Regions from separate parts of the Homo sapiens genome. Here region 2 is linked to region 1. The links are contacts of gene promoters, found by promoter capture Hi-C in human tissues and cell types (Jung and others, 2019). All regions are on one chromosome and are shown on one strand. Each heading gives the region's core, a stretch centred on a gene start or on the middle of the fragment in contact. The rest is flanking DNA. Distances are from core to core; before and after follow the strand shown. Region 1 holds the start of AKAP7 (A-kinase anchoring protein 7). Region 2 overlaps EPB41L2 (erythrocyte membrane protein band 4.1 like 2).

Evidence for each region. Contacts are between HindIII fragments. The study calls those that stand out against the background at their distance.
Region 2: a contact is called between a fragment that was not itself captured here and the fragment with the promoter of AKAP7 in region 1, in 2 of the 25 tissues and cell types used here (dorsolateral prefrontal cortex and hippocampus).

The regions. Positions count from the first base shown.
Region 1 is chr6:131,132,396-131,136,716 of GRCh38, forward strand. AKAP7 (A-kinase anchoring protein 7) reads left to right here and starts at 3,072. Exons shown (of 8, transcript NM_016377.4): 1 at 3,072-3,387. The coding sequence starts at 3,369. RefSeq lists enhancers at 2,703-3,203, 3,640-3,699 and silencers at 3,030-3,119, 3,270-3,379. The HindIII fragment of the contact is 8,304 bases long and covers 1,728-4,321 here.
Region 2 is chr6:130,925,262-130,929,968 of GRCh38, forward strand. It overlaps EPB41L2 (erythrocyte membrane protein band 4.1 like 2), which reads right to left. Exons shown (of 20, transcript NM_001431.4): 4 at 1,344-1,448. Among named protein-coding and RNA genes, the nearest start is that of SMLR1, 100 kb to the left of the region's middle. RefSeq lists a silencer at 3,948-4,242. The HindIII fragment of the contact is 7,412 bases long and covers 1-4,707 here.

The DNA of each region.
Region 1 (4,321 bases), core at 1,822-4,321:
GAAGGTTCACCTGCAGCACGACTCATGAGGGCATGGATCCTCTGGTCCACACTTCCCTCTCCCTCCGTATGTTCTGCCCATTCCTCCCTGACTATTAGTACACAGCCCTTTTCTCCCCAGAGGACAATATACACTGGCACAGTGCCAAAACAACTGGATTGGAAGGGTTTAGTTTTAAGCTACCACACTGTTCCTGGACCACAACACCCCACCGAGATTTTGAAAAGCCTGAGCCAATTATTTTCTAGAATGTCACACATTCTGGATTGGTCTGATTCTTTCCTCATCATGTTATTTTACTTGTACCTCTATCTCCTGTATTTCTGGAAATCTGAAAATTATATTTAAAGCCTTAGCAGCTTCAGGTGAAATATTTATGGCAAGACTACCTTGCAGTGATGATATAGCTTTCACAGGAGCTTTCACAGATTGTCCACCATTAATGATGCTGAGTTTAATCACGATAAAGGTGGTGACAACCAGGTTTATTTACATGGAGTAAAAATATGTTCTCTCCTGAGCAATTACCAAGTATTTTGTGGGGGGTAGTATTTTGGCAACTTATAAATATTTCGGTCCACATTAACCTTTCATGTAATGGTTTTAGAATATATTGATGATCTTTGCATCAATCAGTTATCAGTTGTGGTGGCAAAATGGTAATTTTCCAATTATTTTATGTCTCCTATATTTATTATTGAAAATTCTTCTGTGCAAAGCAGCTTTCCCATACTACTACTTCTAAAAAGTCATGGTAAATCTTTCTTTCCCTTTAATTTTTAGAGTAAGGAGACTAAGGAATTGCGTACTTGTCACCTTTAATGGTGGCCTACTAGTTTTTCTTCCTCATTTTTTGAGTATTATTATGGGTATATAGATTTTGTATTCAGTATGTTACAATAATTACAGGTGTTATCCTTTTATGATGTCAGATTATCTCCCATTTGCTCAAAGAAAGCTGTTTCTCGCTAGTCCTTGTGTTTTTGATAGTCCCCATTTGTCTTTGCTTTTTGGCACAAGAAGATGTCCAAGGTTCACCTTGTACTTCCCTTTCTCCCTGTCATTTCTAAAAGAAGCTCTGTGAAAAATTCCTTTTTCAGACTTGGGTAATTAAAATGTTCCTCCACATGGTAGGTGTTGATAAGACTCTGTATTCATAATACTGGTGGTGAAAAATATGTGGCATTTGGGCTGTTACCTCTGCTTAGGTAAGAGAATGAAACTTCCATATATCTCTTGGTACACACCACAGGGGAAGAAAAATCTTTCTCCTGCCCATTTAGTTCACTAGGTTGGACTGTGTAAATTAAATTGACAAAAGACAGATTAAGACGAGAAAAGGATTATTACACATGCACATAGATGCTTCACAGGAAAGAACTAAAAGCCCGAAGAGGCAGTTAGAACTGGGGGCTTCTATACCATTTTAACGATGATAAAGTGTGGAGAGGCTAGACAAAGGAAAAGGGGGCTTAGCCTTTTTGCAGTATGGGAAGGTTACTAGAAAATGTATGGGTTTGTTATGCAGGTAAGACTCATTCTCCTCTTTCTGGTATGGGTGAGTGGTAAAGCTTTGTTGTTTGTTTGTTTGTTTGAGACAGGATCTGGCTCTGTTGTCCACACTGGAGTGCAATGGCATCATCTCAGCTCACTGCAACCTCCACCTCCTGGGCTCCAGCGATCCTCCCACCTCAGCCTCTGGAGTAGCTGGGATTACAGGCATGGGTCACCACGTCTGGTTAATTTTTGTATTTTTGGTAGAGACAGGGTTTTGCTATGTTGCCCAGGCTGGTTTCAAACTCCTGGACTCAAGTGATCCACTCGCCTTGACCTCCCAAAGTGTTGGGGTTACAAGCGTGAGCCACTGGGCCCGGCCTGGTAAAGCTTTAAAAATAAAAATTTATGTCACCTTTACGAAGGGAAATTTATGTCCTGCTTTTAGGCAGAAAGGGGGAGGTCAAAGTTGTTCCTGAGTCTTTAGTTTCTGAACTGTTTTAAGCTCAAGAATAATCCTTATGCTGAAGTGGCATATTTGGGGTGGCATATTCTCATCCTCTTCACTATGAATGTGGACCACATTTTTGCAGCTTTTATTTCCGCAGTTACTTATGTTTCTTTCTCTGCTATTATATGATCAGCTCCATAAGTAAAAGACCTGTCTTACCTGCACATCCTCAGCACAGAGCTCAAGCATTAAATAAATATTAGGGGAACTGGTTGTACTTTCCTACCAGCCCATAAATGGGCATCAGAAACTCAACGTGTTAGAATTATTTGAAAATCAGAGTAACTAGTTTGCCGACTTCTAGTGTGCAGCCTTTACGCCAGCTGTTGTGGCTGTGTAGGGGTCTTCTTTTCTTCCATCCCTATTCTACGATGCATTCAACATAAGCGAAGTGTTATTATTCACGAAAGGCGCTAATTTGTGGACGGATGCACCTAATGTTCTTAACCCCTGGTTTCTTCGCACTAAAACCAATCCCAATAGCATTCCGTTTCAAGTGAAAGGTTTTTATTTTTTTAAACTAAGTAAATTTCTTTTTCTCCCAATTTACTCACTGCAGTACCTTATACTACAAGAACCAGCAACTGGTTTCCTCTTAATGTCTAAACATAACATCATTGTTAAAAATTAGAGACTTTGTCACAATTTGCAGTTTTTAAAAGTAAGGTAAATAAAGTATCTCATTATACAGAAGTACAAGGTCTCGTTCTTGTACATTTCGCTCTTCCCAAATATTCTGCAATCAGAACCCTGATTGCAAAACTAAGCACATGGATTCTCAAAAGACACCAGGCCAGAGAATTCTTTCATCCTAGTCCCAATCTCGCCCTTGAAAGCGTGGGAGGGGCAAGGCTGCGCCACGGGAAATAAATGAGGGCTGCCAAAGGCCGTCGGAGGCCGCGGGGCTCGGCAGGCAGGCGAAGACCCAGCGTCGCATTGCAGAGTCGAGACGACCTGGGCTGCCGTGACGCCGCAGTCGCCGGCCCTAGTTTCCCCCGCCCTGCCCGAGCGCGTCCGCGCCTCTCGCCCGAATCCGGGTACCACCGGCGACTCGGGTCGGCCCCTTCTGGCTTGTTCCGGCGTCCGGCCTGGCATGCGGGTGCTGCGGCTGCTGCGGCTGCCGCCGCCGCTGCTGCCGCTGCCGCGGGGGCTGCGGCTTGGGAAGCTCCGCGCTTCCGCAGGCCTGGCCTCCGCCGCCCGGGCCCCCGCAGCCTGTCGCTGGACCCCGCGCCGGCCCAGCGCACCGCCCTCAGGCCCCGAGCCCCGCCCTGGCCTCCGCCTCGGCCTCGCCTCCAGCCCCGGGACGCGGCCCGCCACCGCCGCTGCCGCCAGCCCAGACGCGCCGCCCGCATGCGCCGCGACCATGGAGCGCCCCGAAGCGGGTGAGACCGGGCTGTCCAGCGGGCCGGGGCGGGGGCGACAGGAGCCGCGGGGGCCTGGGCCTGCTCTGCGCTCGAACTTTGGGAGGGCCTGACCCGCGCCGGCCCTTCTCCGAGTCTCCCTCCTTCCCAAAAGGACTCAGGGTAGCACCGAGAAGCCCGGTGCAACCGGGGTGTACATCAGTGCTGCCTGTAGCGAAGCGTTTTAATGCACGCATTGTGGGTCCGACAGGAGGCGGGGGTATGAGCCCATCCCCGAGTTTCACTTTTCTTTCTCCCTTTCTCATCCTGTGACCCTTTGCACAAAGTTCATGCCAGTACACATTCCTTCCGACGGTGTTGATGTGGGTAAATGTAAACAAAACCTAGTAAAATTTCGATTTTATCTTATATCACAAATATTAAGCACCCGAACCACCATACTGTCTCATTTAGGATTTTCTGCCAGGTTTGGACATGACCGCTTTTAAAACTGGCGCCAAGTCTACACTAGCGCCCGGAATGAATTTCCAGTTTAGGTCAGCGTTTGTTGTGAACTGAACTTTGTGATAGAGCGAGTTAGGGGTGGACTTTCGGTAAAAGGGTCCGCAAACCAATTAGAGAAAAGGTGCTCCTCTGCAAGAGTTTCATAGGATAAACTCATAGAAGAGTATAAAAAGCATAAAAACGTTAAAGTGTACTATATAAATAGCAGTTAATCGTGTGAATATGTTGACAATTGTTAAGTGAATGATGACAGTGAGTTTTTGCATTTAGGAAATGCATGGGAATGGAAATTGTTAAGGAGAAAAGAGCCATACTCCAGTTCCTTGTTTAAGTGCCGTGGCTTTGCAATTCAGGATCCTGTTAGCATATCTGTATATTTTCCTTACTCATAAAGTTTAAGATGTTTGTGGAGGTTACTTCCTCCTTTCATCCATTTTCGGACACTATTAAC
Region 2 (4,707 bases), core at 1,031-3,530, 210 kb before region 1:
CACTGCAACCTTTGCCTCCTGGGTTCAAGTGATTCTCCTGCCTCAGCCTCCCGAGTAGCTGAGATTACAGGTGCCCACCACCATGCCCGGCTAATTTTTGTATTTTTAGTAAAGACGGGGTTTCACCATGTTGGCCAGGCTGGTCTTGAACTCCTGACCTCAAGTGATCCGCCCGCCTCGGCCTCCCAAAGTGCTGGGATTACAGGCATGAACCACCACGCTTAGCCCAGATTTCTTAATGTAGTATATCCTATGCCTACTAAGAGAACATGTTATTCTACATATTGTACAACATACTGAATTGTCCCTCTACTTTACAAAGATTATATTATATGCTCCTATGAATCTACCAGTATGTGATCTCAAAAAAAGGAGGTAATCCTAGCCAAATTCCCACCACTTTCTCTTTTGCAGCTTTTAGGACAAACAGAAGAGCACATAATTGGAAACATTATCAAGACCACCTTATAATTTACAGTCTAAAAAACCTAGTTTATTCAGTCAAATGTGCTATTACGTCTGAAAACAGTACTCTAAACAGAGTTCTATTAAGAATACTCATGTAGTATTCAGCAGGCAGGCATGTAATTTAACTGTCTTTAGTCTAAACAAAGAATTAAACCACAAATTAGATATCAAGTATTTAAAGCTAAGCAAGTTGAGAAAACTTAAAGTATATATAATTATCACTCTTATTATCTTATATTTCATTAGTAGGACATGTAAATACTAACAACGATAGCAATGTAGGCAAATAAAATTCACACTTCTGTTCTTCTATTGATTGCTCTGTTCTGCTGACTGTGATTTGAATGTTAGATCATGGAGAGTAATCCCTTTCACTGTGACCAAGTGTTCTTGGTATCCTCAGACAGAATCGTTCCAATGTGCCGCCTTCCCTGCCTTTCAGGTATGCTTTAATACCTAGCATACAGGTGACTGCACAATATGAGCAGATGTGACCAGCTTCTTTACTTATTTAGTACCGAAAGGCCAGACTGAGTGATTGAGAGCCAAAAGTGATTAAAATAATACCATTTATTCTGTGTTCTCTTTATGCCAGAACATCACTTTTCCACTGATGACATTCTATTCTGTCTGCTCATGATGTAAGTGCAAAGCATGTACACATATGCATGCACACACACAAATACACATACACCAAAAAGCTACAGGTGGTTTCTCTCTACACAAGATAGTTTTTCAGTATTTACCAAATTTCACAGTGAAGTCATAATAAACACCTAAGTTATTTTAAAGCTAAATTTTAAACTGAGATAAACTGGTTAATAAAAAAATACAATATGTTCTAAAAAGATAAAAATAAACTTGAAATCACTTACTTTCTGCTCAGGGCTTTCCTGAAACAAAAGTCCAAAGTAGTCTTTCTCCAAGAGATTGAGGTGTTCACACACTTTGTCAAATAACACTTGTCCCTTGGCATGTTTCTGGAGAAAAAATAATAACTTTACTTTTCAAGTACTAAAGATTCCAAGACTGCTATAAATTTAAGACATCATATCAGATACATGATTTATTATAAATTAACATTAAATATTTGTTTTCTCATTTTCTAACAATATAAAAGTGATTAATTTTTTAACTTTAGCCCTCCCACCCTGCACACATATACAAAGCATAAAATCTGAAACAAAAGCATAAGCAAGCACCGTCTGCTTTACTGCTACTCAATATAGACATAAAAAGGACGAAAAAGGCGAAATGTTAGCTGTTCATTTTCTTATTTCAAAAATGTTCAAACTGCTTCCATCAATTCCTCAAGGTGGCTCATATCTATAAAGTACACTACTCCCCAGGAAAATCATTTAGCCCTATTATTCAGTAGATCCTAACATAATTTATCCTATCAACACTTTGGTTTCATGTTTGATTTTTTGTTCCATGATATCTGTAGAATAGAATTTTATTTTCTATATGAGCTATGCTCCTATTTACAATTTCCTAGAAAATGATATGGTGTTCGCTCCTTGGGATAAATTCTAAAAATACAAGATAATGGAAGTGGGACAAGAAATCAACTGCCCCTAAGGACTTAACATATTTTTACCTTGAATATATATATATAAATTTAAGAAGCTGCTGTGAACAGAGATGTAAGAGCCTTTGACAGCCATAGAAGAAAAGCTCATTGTCTCTTCAATGGCAAAACATAAGCAGAGTGGTGACTCATCTCCAATTAAGATGCACACCCCTGGAACAACCCAACTGTGAGGTCAGGTCAGACACACGCCTCCTCCCCAGGTGCACTGATAAAAGCCACCAATGCACTGCTAGTGAAAAAGAAAAAGCCATCAGACTTTTCCATCCTCAAAACGAATGCCCTCTCACTATCAAAATGTGTACTAGCTCATCCAGTGTGTGAAAATTAATGTTCCCCACACATGTATCTTGAGGAGGAGAATCTGGTATTTTTATTATTAAGCCTCTTATGGTAACATTTCTGAAAAGAATAGAATTGCATCAAATTGTAAAGGGAAGAAGGAGAATGCCACACAGATAACATTATTTCAACATAATAAGCAGTGTAAGGCCTGGCATGGTAGCTCACGCCTGTAATCCCAGCACTTTGGGAGGCTGAGGCAGGCATATCTCTTGAGCTCAGGAGTTCAAGATCAGCCTGGGCAACATGGTGAAACCTCATCTCTACAAAAAATACAAACGTTAGCCAGGTGTGGTGGCGTGTGCTTGTAGTCTCAGCTACTCCGGAGGCTGGGGTGGAAGGATTGCTTAAGCCTGGGAGGCTGAGGCTGCAGTGAGCTGTGTTCACGCCACTGCAATCCAGGCTGGGTGACAGTGAGACCCTGTCTCAATAAATAAATACATAAATAATAAAAAATTTAAAAATAAAACAATGTGTCACATACATATTACAGGTTTGCAATGAGGATTTAATAGTCAATTAAATTACTGAGCATGTTTAAGATAGATATGTGCTTGTTTGTCTACATATTAAAAGTATATACAAATACAGCATAGAGAATAAGAGTATTGGGCTCTGTATGTCAAACACCAAAGTTCTAAATACACTTCCACTACTTACAAGCTATGTGACCCATGGCAAGACACTTAACGTCTGCTTGCCTTAATCTGCTCATCTGTGAAATGGGGATAACAGATAGCAGATACCACAGGAGGTGCGGTGAGTACTAAAAGAGTTGCAGTACATAACAATTGGTTATGATGCTATTTGAAATTAGGGTAAAAAGGATATTTAAGACAACTGATGTCTACAAAAATACACCTCAGTTCAAGGAGAAAACACGTTCCAATTCCAACACTAGCTTCAAGTCAACTCTTACTAATAATTCACATGTTCTCATTGGTTTCCATTTCAAAAATAGGAACATGCCCTCATGGGCAGAATTTCCTTACAAGATTAAGAGGAAAAAACATCCACACAGCTCACCACTACAATTTGGCAGTACATGAGGTATCAGCATGATGGCTGGACCAGTTCCTCTATCGGACCTAGTTCCTCTATCATTCAACATTTTGTAAGCATTTACTATTACTGCACCGCACCAGTGTGACAAAGTAAAACCACTTAAGTCTCCCTGTCTGTAAAATGAGGGTAATAGCTACCTCAGAGCTCACGTGAGAATAAAATTAACCCAGTGAGATGGAATATGCCTCAACCAACCATAGCAGTACTCTACTGTCAACTATTCCTTCACTAGTCCACATCTAACAAACACCAAAATGTTTCTAGATGCTAAAGCTGCTTCTCTACTATTCTTTCCTTCTCTCTCCAGGGAACAGATATTCTCAATGCTTGATGAGATCCTGATTGCACATACACATTACTTAAGCTTCCATCTGCCTCTCCACCCTCAACGAACTCAAAATCTGGAAGGAAAAGCAAAAATGCAACAACACATGAAGCACATGTTGAGAGAGCGATGTACAAAGTGCTATCAGAACACCAGGAATGGAATGAGTAAATGTGACTAACAGAAATCACAGCTGCGCCAAGAATATGATATCTGAAGGGAATCTTAGAGGAGGAAATGATTTTTTGAGGTAGAGAAAACAGATATTCAAAATAACTTACTTTTTACTTTGGATGTTTATAGAGCTTACTTTTTACTTCGGATGTTTATAGAGACTGAGTGAATTTCTGTTCAAAAGATACTGGAGGATACAGTAAAATGAAAAAAGGAAGCCATCCAGAATAAACAAGCCATGCGATATGACTGCTGGTTACCCTGTCCGACTCTCAGATGACTGTGAGGACTTGCCAAGCTAGCACTCAATCTTTATTGACCCATATGTGTCAGTTCCTATGTTAAGATACCAGGGAATCAATGATGAGCACGACAAACATGGTCTCAGGAAATTTATATGCAACTGGCAGAGAAAGAGAATGAATGGGAAGCCAAAAATAAAGCATTATGTATCTACCAATTTGGACATAATTAGGTACCTGGCCCAATTGGCTCAAAGAAAAGTGACCAGTAGCCTACAAGATAGCCTGATACAAGAGCTCTGCACAACAACAATCTTTTGCTCTGGGGATGAGGAATAGCAGATAGAATCACGACTTCCCTCAGGGAGATTAAATACAAGACAGACAGTCACACACACACACACACACACACACACACACACACACACATACACGCACAGTCATAAAGTGGTATAAACAGTAGGAAAGACAGCGAGAAGGCAATTAGCAGAAGCCAAAGG